Linked DNA regions of Homo sapiens: region 1 is linked to region 2. The links are contacts of gene promoters, found by promoter capture Hi-C in blood cells and fetal thymus (Javierre and others, 2016). All regions are on one chromosome and are shown on one strand. Each heading gives the region's core, a stretch centred on a gene start or on the middle of the fragment in contact. The rest is flanking DNA. Distances are from core to core; before and after follow the strand shown.

Region 1 (3,501 bases), core at 645-3,144, 2.5 Mb before region 2:
ACTGCACTCCAGCCTGGGCGACAGAGCCAGAAAAAAAAAACAGCCAGGCGTGTTGGCAAGCACCTACAGTCCCAGCTCCTCGGGAGGCTGAGGCAGGAGGATCCCATGAGCCCAGGAGTTTGAGGCTTAAGTAAGCCATGATCAGGACAGTGCACTCAAGCCTGGGCAACAATGCGTAACCTTATCTAGGAAAAAAAAAAAAAAAAACGGAGCTAGAAGTCCCAGGAGGCCTGCCCTTGGCCATGATGACCCCTGGGATTCCTAGGCTCACCCTAGGAGCAACTGCTTCCCAGGGACTCTTCTGTGTTAAAGACCTCTGACCGGAAGGATAAACTTGCTGGTCCTAACAGCTCCTAAAGCCACTCTCCCAGGCCTCTCAAGAATCCCCCCAAAAACAGAATCACTGGATCAAAACCAAGACAGTGCTATATGCTTTTCCGCTATGTTCCAAAAAGCATCTTCCACCCACACTGGTCCTCAACTTTCACTGTGCCTCCCGAAGTTAATTCTATGTCTCAAGGGAAAACTGACTTAAAACGCAGATTCCGGGGCCCACCCCTGCATTCTGCTTCAGTGTATTTTGGGTATCTGTATTTAAATAAACACTATTTAAACAAACATGATTTGGGTAAAGGTCTCAAGACACAATTTGTAAGCAGTCCCGCTATCGGATTCCTTTCGGCAGGTGTTTTTCTCGCCGAGTGTGGGTTTTTACTTCCTTTTCTATTTGGGCAAAGACTCTTTTTGAATCAGTGACCCACGCAGAAGTTACTCAATCTGTTTGAAAGAGTATAAAGTTCACGATTTCCCTACACACTAACATTATCAAAGAGTGTATATTTATATTAGAACAAACTCAGAAGGTTAAAAAGCTAGTGATTAAAAGTAAGGGCAGAGAGGAAGAAGGTAAAGACCAGTACCTGGATGCCTTATTCTCTAGGAATAACAACTTTTCCTTAATTAGCACTTCCTAATCTTCAGAGTTCTTATGTCTGCAGCTAGCTCACTTCGAAGAAAAATGCAGGGACCATGAAGTAGTTGTTACTATTCCTACTGGAGTACGCGCTTCATGGGCAGGGACCACACTCACAATCTTTTCCTCCCAGAACCCAGTACAGGGACTGGCACACAGTAAATGCTAAATGCAGAAGGAATGGTATCTCTAGTTTCTCAAAGGTGCAAACCAAGCCATCCCTTTCTCCAGAATCTATGGATTAATCATTTCCAAATCTACAGACCACATTTTGAAAAGGAATGCTTGCTGTTCCAAAGAACTCGCACTTGTTTCTTCACGCCCTCGCCCCTTCTCTCCAGTGGCTCTCCCTCTCCCTTCCCACTGCCTGGGCGCGTTCGCCTGGAGTTAGCCTGGACCTGACGAAAATCTGTAAATTAAGGCGAAGGACCCAGCTGCAAAAAAGGCGCTCTGCAGCCCTCTCCCAGCCTCGGGTGACAGGGGTCTTCCAGGGCGTCGGAGCCCAAGAGACCCCGGCCACCTTCCTCTCCCGGGAACCCCAAATCGATCCTGCCACTGCCACAGCCACCGCCCCCGCCCCTTCAACTCCGCCAAGTTTACCCCGGGCTCGGCGCCCATCACTAGTTCTGGAGCTGACCGCGCGGAAGCCCGCCCGCCGGGGTCGCAGGGCCCAGGCCCCCGCACAGCTCTGCAGCCCCCGCAAGCACAGCCCGACCCGCGGCGCGCTTGCCGCTCACCCTCGTCCGGGCCCTCGGCACCCGCCACGGCCAGCAGCTGCACCAGCCCCAAGAGCAGCAGGAGCAGGAAGGCTTTCCGGGGCCTCATGGTAGCGGGGGCGGAGCGCGGCCTCCTAGCGTCGGCGGCCGCTGAGCGCACCGAGAACTCGGGGTCTGGCCGACAGCCCGTCGCTCCTTAGCGACGCGGGGGAGCCGGAAAAACCCACGGAAGTCGTCCCCGGCGATTGGCAGGGGGCGGAGGAAGTCGCGGGCCGGCCAATCCCAGACTGACGCCGGCACGGACCGCGCGCGCCTCGGCCGCGACGAGTCGGCTCCGCCGCCCTAGGCCCTCCCTACTCCTGCGCGCGGCCCTCGGCTGCGCGTTTAAAACTCCGAGCCCTAACGTGAGGTGCCCCCTTCTGATTGGCTGCGCCACAACCACCAATCAGCGGCTGCCACTCGGTTTGCCGGGAGCGCACAGGCCAAGAGGGAGAGCGGGGGAGAACAAAGGCGGCGGGCCGGGCACGGGGAGTGCGGGACCTGGCTACGCCTCGGGGCGCTATTGGCAATCGGTGCCGGGGGCGGGGCAGGAGAGGCGGAGCCTGGGAAATGTGGAGCGGGGCGGGGCTCGGCTCAGCATCCTGCGGCCGAACTTGGCAGTAAGAACACGTGTCGGTACCGGAGCGGTGGGGAGCAGTGGCGAGCAGGGCGGTCCTCGCAACCCGCCGGGGCTCTGGGAAGCTGGAGACCAACGCGGGCGGAGGAGCACGAGCCTGTTTGTTGCTAGAAAGGGGCTCCAAGTCCGCTGCATGTTCGTGGCCTTCTTAATTTCTTTTTCTGCTCGAGCAAATAAAAGTTTCATTTCTCTCCGGAGTATTGAGCTAGAGAGCGGGGAAGAGCATGCAGTAAAGTGAATCCAGACTAGAATCTGGGGAAGCCTCTCTCCAAGGTTGCATCTCGGAGAAACAAGCCATCAGATTCTTGTCTAAACTTTGCCTCGTCTTATTTAGTTTTCTAGTGATTTTCTGCAAAAGGAAATACCAGATAGGCAATCTAGTGGTTTACATAGATCTGAATAAAAGCTTGAGGTTTTCCCTCTTGACCACTTTGGAGAAGAAAACTAGGTTAAGATGACGATTTTTGTATGTCAGAAAAGAAGCCTGTAATGTGCATTAAGTTTGAGACTTTTTTTTAACACCTGGGAGTTTGAGAAGGCAAATAGGGAAAAGAAAAAAAATAGAAACTCAAGTTCAGGAATATTTTCTCGTGTGTGCAGATTATTACGTGAGGAAGAAAAAAGGGATAACTCACAGACCTTAGCAATTAAAAATACTTAATTTTTTTGTTGAATGCCTATTAATCTGATGGTTCCTGGTCAATTTTGTAGGGCAGAACATTATGCAACTGTACACACTGATTTATTAGAGTGCTATGAATGTGGGCCACCAGACAGTTCGGTATCATGTTATTTTATTTTTTGAGACAAGAGTCTTGCTCTGTCACCCAAGCTGGAATGCAGTGGCGCCATCTCCTCTCACTGCAACCTCCGCCTCCTGGGTTCAAGTGATTCTACTGTCTCAGCCTCCCGGGTAGGTGGGACCACAGGCGCCCGCCACCACTCCCTGCTAATTTTTATATTTTTAGTAGAGACAGGGTTTCACCACGTTGGCCTGGCTGGTCTCAAACTCCTGACCGACCTCAAGTGATCCACCCACCTCGGCCTCCCAAAGTGCTGGGATTACAGGTGTGAGCCACCGTGCCCAGCCTTAATATCATGTTAAAGATAGACCTGTTCTTCAAAAAGACAAGTCA
Region 2 (3,587 bases), core at 380-2,879:
AAAGAAAGCCAACTAGTTAAACAAACATAGCACTTTTTTGTTTTATCTGAAGACAACTTTAAAAATAAAGTTTGTGGCATGACAAATCACAATGACAAGTATCCTACTAGTCAAACTGGCTTAATGTATTTAATCAAGAGAACATTCTAAGAAAGGTGTGGAGGCTTTTTATGTGGCTCTACCCCCAGAATATAGGACAAACAGCTCAGCATCACAAAATACCACAATCTAGAAACACAGGTACTCAAATTTCTCTGGTACAGCACCACCATTTGCAAGCAAACATGCCAGTAAGCTCCCAGAAGTGAGCATGCTGAGTAATTCTCAAAAGGGTGGCTTACTAGAAGAAACCTGCTGGCAAAACCTAATCTCCTTCCCCTAAAAAAGACCCCACATACTACAAAATATCCTGGCTCATAATACACTTTAAAATCAAATGCGGCTGGGCATGGTGGCTCACGCCTATAATCCCAGCACTTTGGGAGGCCAAGGTGGGAGGACCACCTGAGGTCAGGCGTTTGAGACAAGCCTGACGTTTGGCCAAGTGGTGAAACCCGTCTCTACTAAAAATACAAAATTAGCCGGGCATAGTGGTGCACGCCTGTAGTGCCAGCTACTCTGGAGGCTGAGGCAGGAGAATCGCTTGAGTCCGGGGCGTGGAGGATGCAGTGAGCCGAGATCGCGCCATTGCACTCCAGCCTGGGTCACAAGAGCGAAACTCCGTCTCGGAAAAAAAAAAAAAAAAAAATCAAATACAAGATTGGGAGCAACTTAACCTCTCCAAAATCGTTTAATATGACTACGCTTGAAAATAAATATGGAGAAGTGGGGTAGGTTGCAGAAATATGAAATACTGAAGACAGAAAATAGGGACTAAAAGTGACCCTGTATCCCACCGGAGACTAAGTTAGCACAGTATTTAACAAGCAACAGTTTGTGAGGACAAGGCTAAGGGGTGGCCTGTCACATCTCCGTCCTCAGGAGGACGCTGAATAGAGGGAAGATAAAACAGAATGGATTTCAACTGGACATAAGGAACTTCTGTAGCCAAAAAAAAAAAAAAAAAAGTGATAAAACTAGCCCTGCTCACCAAAGACTAGAGCTACCATTTCGACATTTGAAAAGGGTAAATCAGTCAAGATCTTTAGGTCATTCTCTTGGGTTGAAATCAGGTAGCCGAGGTACTTGTTGCCTATAACGTGATTATTCAGGGACTACTATTTCCAAATAGTTGCCAATAAGTACTTACTTGACTGACTAGGGAAGGCTCACCCAAGAGCCAGAACACCTCGCGGTCCCAACTCCTCAAAATGCAGAGGAGGAAATCAAGAGAACAGAGACAAGAGCATGGATTCAGGCTGCCAATAAAGGCTGGATCCCAGGTTCCATGTTGATATTTGAACAATTAGTGACTTTGAACCCCTCCATTTGATTCATGGTTACTTCCTGGCTGCAGCTGTTAAAGCTGCCACCTATGCATCCCCTCGGATTCAGCACCGCATCGCACAAGAGTTCCCCTACGACTCTAGGCACCCCGCATCTCTAGCCAAGCTTCTTTCAGCCCTTAATTTCCCCCCGGCTCTCGACGGAGAGGTGGTAAAAGGATGAGTAAGCATGCAGTGGCTGATCTTGGTCAAAGAGCACAGACCCTGGCACAGGCGGTGGAAAGCGCAGTTGGGGAGTGCATCCAGTGAGCGGCAGGCAGGTACAAGCTTCCCATGACAGATAGTCACCCCGTTCCGCAATCACGGGAGCCTCGGAACCCTCGCTTTCACCTCCCCATCCCCTCAACTGTGGCCCGGTGCACGCCTTCTATAGACAGTTACTTCAAAACAGCCCGAAAAGATGAACTAATTTCTCCAGGCTTCCGGATGTCGGGAGACAATACAGCCTCACCCTGAAGCGTGTCTAAGTTCAATCGCTCTGGTTTCACACAGGCCAGAAAACCGCTCGTTCTGTAACACCCCGTCCGCCCCCCAACCCGACCCTAAGCCACCTTATTCAGCAATAAGGCGACTGCTAGGAACTGTTTCAAATGTATGTCAACCTTTTGGGGGAAGAAAAAGAAAACAAAAAGACTTTGGAATTACTTCAACAGCCTGGTTGCAAGTACCTGACCTTATTCCTTCCCGAACAAAAATAGGGCACCGAGAGATCAGACATTCCTTTTTCTCTGTCTTCCTACCCAGGCCGCCAGCAGCATCTCGAGGGCCTCCAGAGGGACCTCTTTTGGGGGATCGCCTAGGTTTCCTATGCAGAAAACTTGCGTTCAGTGCCCAAACGTCCTCTAAATCCCTAGTTTTCTTTACAAGGGTAAACTTCACCACAGATGGAATGAAGCCGAGGCGCTGCTTCCTTTGTTAAAATCCCACGGACTTTCTTTTCCTTACATCGGGGGCGGGGTGGGGGAGACCGCCAGCCCCGGTCACGCGCGCCCGCGGCGAAGGCGGGGAGGCAGGTGTGACTCCCTCGCGGCAGCCTCTAGCGCGGCTCCCCGGCGCCGCCTCACTTCCCCAGACGAGACCCGGACTCCTCGGCGGCCGACGGCCCCCGCCCCGCGCCTCCCACGCCCTCCGCCCGGCCGCCACCTGCCCGCCCGGCCCGCGGAGGGCGCCCAGCTACCGCGGCTCCTCCACCGGCGCGGACGCCGCCCCGACCGCCACCACCTCCGCTCAGAATGGTGGTTACGAAACGCGCGGCCCCCGCCCGCCCCGCCACATGGCCGCGCCGGCTCCAAACTTCGCAGGCCCGGCCGCGACCCGGCTCCCAGGCGAGGCCCCGGCGGCGCGAGGAGGCCGCGCGGCCACCGGCCACTCACCCACAGACCGGTAGCCCAGGATCGCGATCTTCCGGGACTTGGACTGCGGCATCTTGGCGGCCTCCTCAGCCCCGGCCCAACCACATCAACCGCGGCGGCGGTGGCTCCTGCTGCTGTGATCGGCGGCGGCCGCGCCGGGAGAGAGCGGCATACAGAGCAGGGGCGGCGGCGGGCGCGGCTGCCTCTCGCTCGCTAGCTCGCGCGCTCCCAACCGCCCGGAACCGACCGCGCGGCGGCGCCCCTCCCCCCCACAACACGCCCACGTGACCGGCCGGCGTCAGCACCGCCCCTCTTCGCGCCGTGGCCCGCCGCCTCCGCCCCCCGAAATACGCGGGGGGTGCGTCGGGGCGACGTTTTACTTTAAAGGCAAAAAAAGGGGACGCCGCGATGCCCCCAGAAAAGTCACGACTGAAACTCGCTGCGTCATGACCCTCCCACCTTCTTCCGCCGCTTTTTAATTACGCCATTCTCCCCGAGCGCCGATTGGACAGCTCCTGCACAGCCGCGCGATGACGTGTCGGAAACTCCATCTCCCATTGGGGGAAACAAGGAGGCGGGGAGGGGGGGGCGGGGCTGCCCGCCCGGGAGCTAAAAATACACCTCGCTGCTACCGCGCTGTTGGGCGCCGGCTAGGTTTGAAGGCTTCAAACTTCCAACCGGTTAGGGGCGGGCGGGAGAGGCGGAGAGACAAACGGTGGCTCCCTGGTGATTGGCCAGAACGGAGCGCAGGGCGGGGCAATAGGTGGGAGGTGCGGTGATTGGCGAAACG

The links. Contacts are between HindIII fragments. The CHiCAGO score rates a contact against its expected background, and 5 or more counts as called.
Region 1: a contact is called between the fragment with the promoter of PDIA4 here and a fragment that was not itself captured in region 2, in 1 of 17 cell types (total CD8 T cells). The highest score is 5.3, in total CD8 T cells.

What each region holds. Positions count from the first base shown.
Region 1 is chr7:149,026,611-149,030,111 of GRCh38, forward strand. It overlaps PDIA4 (protein disulfide isomerase family A member 4), which reads right to left and starts at 1,895. Exons shown (of 10, transcript NM_004911.5): 1 at 1,711-1,895. The coding sequence starts at 1,798. RefSeq lists enhancers at 1,015-1,609, 1,610-2,203 and silencers at 1,528-1,577, 1,668-1,737, 1,808-2,387. The HindIII fragment of the contact is 15,108 bases long and covers 1-2,769 here.
Region 2 is chr7:151,516,642-151,520,228 of GRCh38, forward strand. RHEB (Ras homolog, mTORC1 binding) reads right to left here and starts at 3,254. Exons shown (of 8, transcript NM_005614.4): 1 at 2,819-3,254. The coding sequence starts at 2,870. RefSeq lists an enhancer at 1,385-1,434 and silencers at 2,465-2,574, 2,505-2,934, 2,645-2,764, 2,935-3,094, 3,265-3,587. The HindIII fragment of the contact is 161 bases long and covers 1,550-1,710 here.